2 separate regions of the Homo sapiens genome follow, and region 1 is linked to region 2. The links are contacts of gene promoters, found by promoter capture Hi-C in blood cells and fetal thymus (Javierre and others, 2016). All regions are on one chromosome and are shown on one strand. Each heading gives the region's core, a stretch centred on a gene start or on the middle of the fragment in contact. The rest is flanking DNA. Distances are from core to core; before and after follow the strand shown. Region 1 holds the start of MAPK8IP2 (mitogen-activated protein kinase 8 interacting protein 2). Region 2 holds the start of SCO2 (synthesis of cytochrome C oxidase 2).

Region 1 (4,172 bases), core at 1,122-3,621, 75 kb after region 2:
CACATGTCTGCTAAGCACCTACTGTTTGCCAGGCACCATGCTTGGAGCCTAGGGCTTCACAGAGAGATGACAGCCTCTCTTCTCTCCAGCCAACCCAAGTCAAGAAGGCAAGCATAAACTAGTAAATGGCTTTTTTTTTTTTTTTGAGATGGGATCTCACTCTGCCCCCCAGGTTGGATGCAGTGGTGTGATCTCAGCTCACTGCAACCTTTGCCTCCTGGGCTCGGCCAATTTTTTTTATTTTTGGTAGAGACATGTTTCCAGGCTGGTTTCAAACTCTTGAGCTCAAGTGACGCACCCACCTTGGCCTCCCAAAGTACTGGGATTACAGGTGTAAGTCACTGTGCCCAGCCAAGTAAATGCCATTCTTAGAAAAATACTGTAATTGGCATAAAATATAAATTGTGATGGGACACCAAAGAGTGCAGGTTCAATCAGGCCCTGGCCACAGGCCTCTCTCTGAGCTGGAATGGTGATACCCCCCTTCCCGACTTGCATGAGCTCCTTCTGCCATGTCGTTTCTGGTGTTTGTCACTCAAGTGCCTTGTCCTTTCCTAAGGAATAATTTTCCAGGCCAGGGGCGGTGGCTCACGCCTGTAATCCCAGCACTTTGGGAGGCCAAGGAGGGCAGATCACCTGAGGTCAGGAGTTTGGGACCAGCCTGGCCAACATGGCAAAAACCCATCTCTACTAAAAACACAAAAATTAGCCGGACATGGTGGTGATTGCCTGTAATCCCAGCTACTCGGGAGGCTGAGGCACGAGAATCGGTTGAACCCGGGAGGTGGAGGTTACAGTGAGCTGAGATCGTGCCACTACACTCCAGCCTGGGCAACAGAGCAAGTTCTGTCTCAAAAAAAAAAAAAAAAAAAAAAAAAAAAAAAAAAAAAAGAATTTTCCGCAGAACTAAGACATAAAGAAATCTTAGGGCACATAACTTTCATCAAGGGGGAAAAGGGATTGCGCTTTTGTTGAAATGCCAGCCTCCTTCTTTAGCCAATATTTAGCCAGGTGCTGTGGTTCACACCTGTAATCCCAGCACTTTGGGAGGCTGAGGCCAGAGGATAGCTGAGCCCAGGAGTTTGAGACCAACCTGGGCAATACAGAGAGAGCCGGTCTCTCTCTCTCTCTTTTTTTTTTTTTGAGACGGAGTCTTGCTCTTGCCAGGCTGGAGTGCAGTGGCGCAATCTCGTCTCACTGCAACCTCCGCTTCCCGGGTTCAAATGATTCTCCTGGCTCAGCCTCCCAAGTCGCCGGGACTACAGGCGCCCGCCACCACGCCCGGCTAATTTTTTTGTATTTTTAGTAAAGACGGGGTTTCACCATGTTGGCCAGGATGGTCTCTGGTCTCGATCTCTTGACGTCGTGATCCACCCGCCTTGGCCTCTCAAAGTGGTGGGATTGCAGGCGTGAGCCACCGCGCCCAGCCACCGGTCTCTATTTTAGAAAGAAAAAAAGTGTCCTGCAGTCTCTCCCTAGTTCTGCGCCCTCAACCCTGATCTCCCGCCTCCTCCCACAGCCACCGTCTCGAGCTCAGCTTCAACCATGGCCCTCCCCACAGGGCTCCATCCCAAGCCAGAGCGGGTCAGTTCCCTACACAGGGCCCAGCAACACGGTGCCCAAGAAAAAGTGTTTCCAGTGGGACGCATGTCGCCTCCGTGGGTGCTAACTTCTCCCAGTGCCCGTCGGTACGTCCGTCCGGCTGTGCAGTCTCTACTGAGTGCTCAAAGTCCACTTTTAGCCCCAGCCAGCATCCTCTGAGTACCTTGTGCTCGATTCTGAATCCAGCCCTGCTCGGCGACCCTCGTGCAGACGTCCCCGTGCAGCCCCGGTCAGCACCCCGTGGGGACAGCTCCGATCAGCACCCGACGGCGGACAGCTCCTCCCGCGCCTCCCGCCTCGCCCGCCACCCCGCTCCGGGCCGCACCCGGGTTAGGGTTCCTGGGGGGATCCTGGGCGCGGCGGCGCAGCTCCCGGGGCCGCCCCGGCCTCTCGCCCAGAGGAAACAGCCCACGGCGAACCCGAGGCCCGCGGACCCCGGCGCTGCCTCCTCGGCCTCCCGCCCCGCGCGGGTCCTCCAGGGCGGGGCCCGACGCCCACCCGCCCGCCCCTTCCCTCCCGCCCCTCCCCGGGAAAAATCCTCATCGCACGCCCGGCCCTTCCCCAACCAGCGCCCGGCAGTGAAGCCGCCGCCTCTCCTCCAACCAGCGTCCCCGGCCGCGTCCCTCCCCCGCCTCCCCCGCCGCCCTCCCCGCGCCGCCGCGGAGTCCGGGCGAGGTGCGCGGGGCGGACGCCGCAGGGCGTGTCACGAGGTGAGCGGGGCGGGCCGAGCGCCGGCGCGGGGCGCGGCGAGGCTCCCGCACCCCCCGCCGCAGTCGCGGGCCTCTCCCGGAGAAGATGGCGGATCGCGCGGAGATGTTTTCTCTCTCCACCTTCCACTCGCTGTCGCCGCCGGGCTGCAGGTACCCCCCTCGGCGCCCGGGCCGGGCGGACCCTCCGCTCCCTGCGCACCCCCCCGACCCCGACCCGGCCCGGACCCCCGTCCCCGCCGCCCCAGCCCCGCCGCCGGCGCGGACCCGGCCCCGGCCCCCTGCGGTCCCTGAGCCTCGGCTCGGGCGCCCCACCCCCACCCCGCTCCCACTCCCTCCATCTTCACCGCGCGTCCCCAGCCTCAGTGACCCCCGGGCCCCGCCGGGATTCTGAGCCGCGCCCGGCCTGGACGGCTGACCTGTCAAGGGTGGAGGCCCTGGGCCGACCCTCTGCGGGGGAGGATGCGGGCGGGATGCGGGCACACCCTCCCGGCGCGGCGTGTCCCGGTGGCCTTGGCCTCTTTCAGTGGACGCCAGACCTGGCCGATAGGGCCCGGCCGGGAGAGAGTGGAAATCAAGCCCGGAGCCCTGCGGGAAGGGACTGGGGTTGGGAGGACGCTGGGCCTCTGGGTTTAGGCCTCACTCCGCCGGAGAGGGGGAGACAAACAGGCCAGACTCTCTTCCCAGAGCAGGAGCGACCCCTCCCCATCTGCCGCTGCCGCGTTGCAGCTCCCCCTCCCCTGCTCTGCAAGACCCTGACCCCAGGGGCCTGGAGCTGCGAGTGGAGGGAGGAGAGGCTGCTGGCTCTCCAGGGAGGCGGGGTGGGAGGGGTGGGGGCAGGGTTGGCTCCTCCGGGCAGGCCTGGCTCAGATGGGGGAGGGGATCCACAGGCGAGCAGAGCTTGGGGGTCAAGATGATGGCAGGATGTGTTCCGAGAGCTGGGGGCTGTGGAAACCACTGGGTGTAGGAGCTGACGCCTCCCTCTGCCCCTCCTCAGGGCCAGTTGCCAGGCAGGGAGTCCAGGGTTGGTGGCTCTCTGACCCTGGTCTCCTTTCCAGGCCTCCCCAGGACATAAGCCTGGAAGAATTTGACGACGAAGATCTGTCTGAGATCACTGATGACTGTGGCCTGGGCCTCAGCTACGACTCAGACCACTGTGAGAAGGTGGGAGAAGAGTTGGGGACACAGATCCAGCTCAAGGGAGGGCCTCATTAGGTTCTTCTTAGCGTTCACTTGGGGTTTTAGGGTGGGTGTGAGCTCAGCCTTGAACCGGGGACTCCTCTGATGGCTCCTCCCCACTTAACCCTTGAGGTTTCCTTGGTATCAACTCTCTCTTATTCCAACACATTGCAGGCCTCCACGCAGGGCCTTCCCCAGCATTCTCCCCGACCCCATCGGTGGCCAGCCCGGGGCAGGGAGGTGCTCCTTTGCTTTGGGTGCCCTCTGTCCTCAGATCACTCCCAGAAAGATCTAATCCCTGGCAGCTGCCATCACAACCTTGTCCCCTCTGCAGCCCTGTGCCCTCGTCTGCAGCTCCCATCTGTCTGTTTCATGTCTCCCCCTGCTGAAATCTTTTCTCGTCCATCTCTTGCTTCTCCTCCTCCCTGTCTCTCCACATTTCTGCTTTCATTTATTGAAGAACATTTCTGAGCAACTGCCATGTGGCAAGTACTGGGGGCTTCTGGGTGCTGGGAGTGGAACAGGACAGCTGCTCTCTGGAGCTGCAACTTAGTAGGGGAGAAAGACTTGTAAGGGACAATGGCTGCCCACGTGTCAAGGGCTGCATTCCAACAGGGACATAAGTTCCACGAGGGGGAAGGGAACCCAATCCACACTGAAGGAATCAGGGAGAATTTCCAGAGG
Region 2 (2,732 bases), core at 1-2,500:
GGACCCGAGGCTTGAGCTGAGAGAGCCTGTGCCAAGCTGTGGGGCTCCGAGTCAGCAGCAGCATGGATCTGATGCTCCTGGAAACAAGCACAGGCGTCAGGAGCCAGAAGGGAAGGCCCAGGACAGTGCCTGGGCTGCCCCTGCGACTTGAGACCAGCCACCCATCTGAAGGACCCAGCCCACGTTCAGGCTTAACAGGCATTTGCAGCTGCTCACCTGAGCTCAGAACTCCACCTCCACCAAACATCCACACCTGGGCAACCACACCTGTCACTCCTGTCCTCTACCTGGGATCACCAGCCTGTCACCGCACCCTGCCCTGCACCTGCACCTCAGCAAGGTGAACCTCTTGCTGACGGAAAGCATTCCAAGTGCATGCCTTGCCTGAACTAACCACGTTATCTATTTGCAATAAACCCATTTCTTAAAAGGAGGTGGGTAACTCTCTGGCTTGCAATCCCCGAGAGCAACCGATTCCTCCAACACTTTCCTGTTACCTCCAGCCACTTCAACCAACCGCGGCCTTCCTCCACACTCCCAGCAGAAAACCTGCACGACCTACCCCCGGAGCTCAGACTCTGCCCGCCGGCTGTGTTTAACCTCTCCTGGCAGAGACGCACGACACTTCCACCCGCCACAAAACCCCACCCTCCTCACATCCAGGCTTCCCAGCAGCTCCTCCGGGCTCACAGCCGACGCCCTGCCTTTGCGTTGGTGACCTTTGAGCCTTTCCCACGGGCCCCCGCAGAAGGTTTGCTAGGTGGAGGTCTCAGGACTCCCGGTCACTGCCCCCTCCTGCTGAGGGCACCCTCCCGAGGACTCACTGCACCCCCGCCCGGGCGGTTCTGGGTTTGTGCCCTCCCCAGCAAGGCCAGCGCCCTCGTGGCCAGAAAGGTTCCAGGACCACTCGAAGCGCCGCGCGAGCGCGTTATAACTGTGCTTGGCCGCGAGAACACCGGTGCCTGCTGGGAGCCTCCCACGGGCGCCCCAGCCTCGCTCCGGCCTCCAGCGCGCCCTGGGGTGTGCCCCGCCAGCCCCGCGCAGTAGCCGGAGCTGGGAAACTACCCCGGAGTCCAGCGAGTCCTCAGGGCTACCTCCTCCCCTCCCAGCCCCGGCGTCCGCACCTCGCGGCGGGGCCGCGCGTCAGTGGACCAAGCACGAGAGGAAGCGCCGACCTCCAGCTCCCTGCGCTCTGCCCCGCCGGCTCAGGGAAAGCGGGCGCCACACGCTCACAGGCAGGGCGCAGGCGTCCCCGGAGCTGCGCATGCGCACACGGGCGCAGCCGCTGACAGGCTCTCAGCGCGTGCGCGGAAGGCGGAGCCCGCCGGGGGTCACGTGTTCATCGAGACGGCCCCCGCCTCCGCAGCCCTGGATCCTTCCGCTCCCGCCCAAGCACTGACAAGGTTTCGCGGCAAAGGAGCTTTATTGCTGCGGCGGCAGAACGAGCTCTGCGAAGGGCGAGGGGGCGGCGAATGGCGCGCGGTCGGAGAGTACGAGCGCCTCCTGCAGGGCGCGGCTCTGCGGGCCGCTGAGCGCGGGGCCGTCCCGGTGCACGCGGAGCCAGGGGGTCCCTGCAGAGCGAGGGGCTGTTAGAGGCCGCGCGGCCGGAGCTGGGCGGGGGTGCGGGGCCAGCAGGGCGGGGGCGGCGCTCACCACGGCGCAGCCTCTGACCCACGTCGACCAGCAGCTCTGCGCCCACCCCCAGGCGGAGCGGCTCCCCAGCGCGGCTGCGCCCGGCCCCGAGCTCGTGCAGCACCAGCGCCAGCGGCAGCGCCCGGACCAGCTCCACGGTGCCTGCGGGGAGAGGGGCTGAGAGGCGCGGGCTCGGGAAGGGGCGGGGCCTCGGGAAGGGAAGGGGATGGCGGAGGCGGAAGGACGGGGACTCCCCCGACGCTCACCATCTGCGGGCGCCAGCAGCTCCTCCTGCTCCCGGGCGCGAGGCAGCAGCTGCCGGCGTTCTGCGGGACTTCCCGAGCACAGGGCTCGGGCCAGACCGGGATCCACGCCCTGCGCCGCCAGCATCCGCTCGAAGCGGCCAAGGGCCGAGCCGTCGTCCAGCGCCGCGGCCACCCGGGCAGCGCCCTGGGCCTGAGTCCCCGCGTGTCCGCTGAGCCAGAGCAGGGCGCCCCCTGCGGGCGGGGACGGGTCTTAGGCGCGGCCGGGTCGGGGCGGCCCCAGCGGGAAGCACCCCCCGCCGCCTCCGCTCCCCTACACCCCGTCCCCCTCACCGAGCGTGGTGACCAGGTCCCTTAAGTCTGGCGGGCCTGCGCCGTCCATGCAGAGCAGCGCCTCCTCCACCTCCAGGGCGTGGCCCACGCAGCGACCCAGGGGCTTGTCCATGGCGGTCAGCGCTGCCGCGACCCGAAGCCCTAGGCTGGCTCCCACGCCAACCTGCGGAGAGGAGGCTCAGCGTGGACCCCCCATGGCGGGGCCTTCTGCAGCCGGTTCTTGGTCGAACTCCAGCCCCTGCTGCACCCTGGGTTGCCAGCCCCCCAGCATGAAGTCAGGGAAGGATTGGGGTGGGGAAGAGACACGAGTGAAGTGCGACACCTCGCCATGGGGCCAGGAGGAACTTGTACTTGGTCTGGGGCAGGAACGCCACAGAGGGCTTCCCCAGGTCCAGGCCGGGCCAGCCTTGACCTCTAAAGTCACAGCAGGTTAGGAAGCCGTGAAGGAGGGAGGGACTTCGGGCAGAAGAGGGTGGGACTGGGGTTAGGCAGGACTGCTGAGTG

Evidence for each region. Contacts are between HindIII fragments. The CHiCAGO score rates a contact against its expected background, and 5 or more counts as called.
Region 1: a contact is called between the fragment with the promoter of MAPK8IP2 here and the fragment with the promoter of SCO2 in region 2, in 7 of 17 cell types (neutrophils, M0 macrophages, total CD4 T cells and 4 more). The highest score is 7.4, in neutrophils.

What each region holds. Positions count from the first base shown.
Region 1 is chr22:50,598,422-50,602,593 of GRCh38, forward strand. It overlaps MAPK8IP2 (mitogen-activated protein kinase 8 interacting protein 2), which reads left to right and starts at 2,372. Exons shown (of 12, transcript NM_012324.6): 1 at 2,372-2,462; 2 at 3,368-3,473. The coding sequence starts at 2,398. RefSeq lists a silencer at 1,782-1,961 and an enhancer at 2,751-3,251. The HindIII fragment of the contact is 20,896 bases long and covers 1-4,172 here.
Region 2 is chr22:50,524,348-50,527,079 of GRCh38, forward strand. SCO2 (synthesis of cytochrome C oxidase 2) reads right to left here and starts at 1,251. Exons shown (of 2, transcript NM_005138.3): 1 at 1,125-1,251; 2 at 1-77. The coding sequence starts at 64. NCAPH2 (non-SMC condensin II complex subunit H2) reads left to right here. Exons shown (of 20, transcript NM_152299.4): 20 at 1-433. It overlaps TYMP (thymidine phosphorylase), which reads right to left. Exons shown (of 10, transcript NM_001953.5): 7 at 2,229-2,391; 8 at 1,899-2,129; 9 at 1,654-1,794; 10 at 1,405-1,571. The coding sequence ends at 1,423. RefSeq lists silencers at 923-1,222, 1,433-2,262 and enhancers at 2,353-2,652, 2,461-2,732. The HindIII fragment of the contact is 21,491 bases long and covers 1-2,732 here.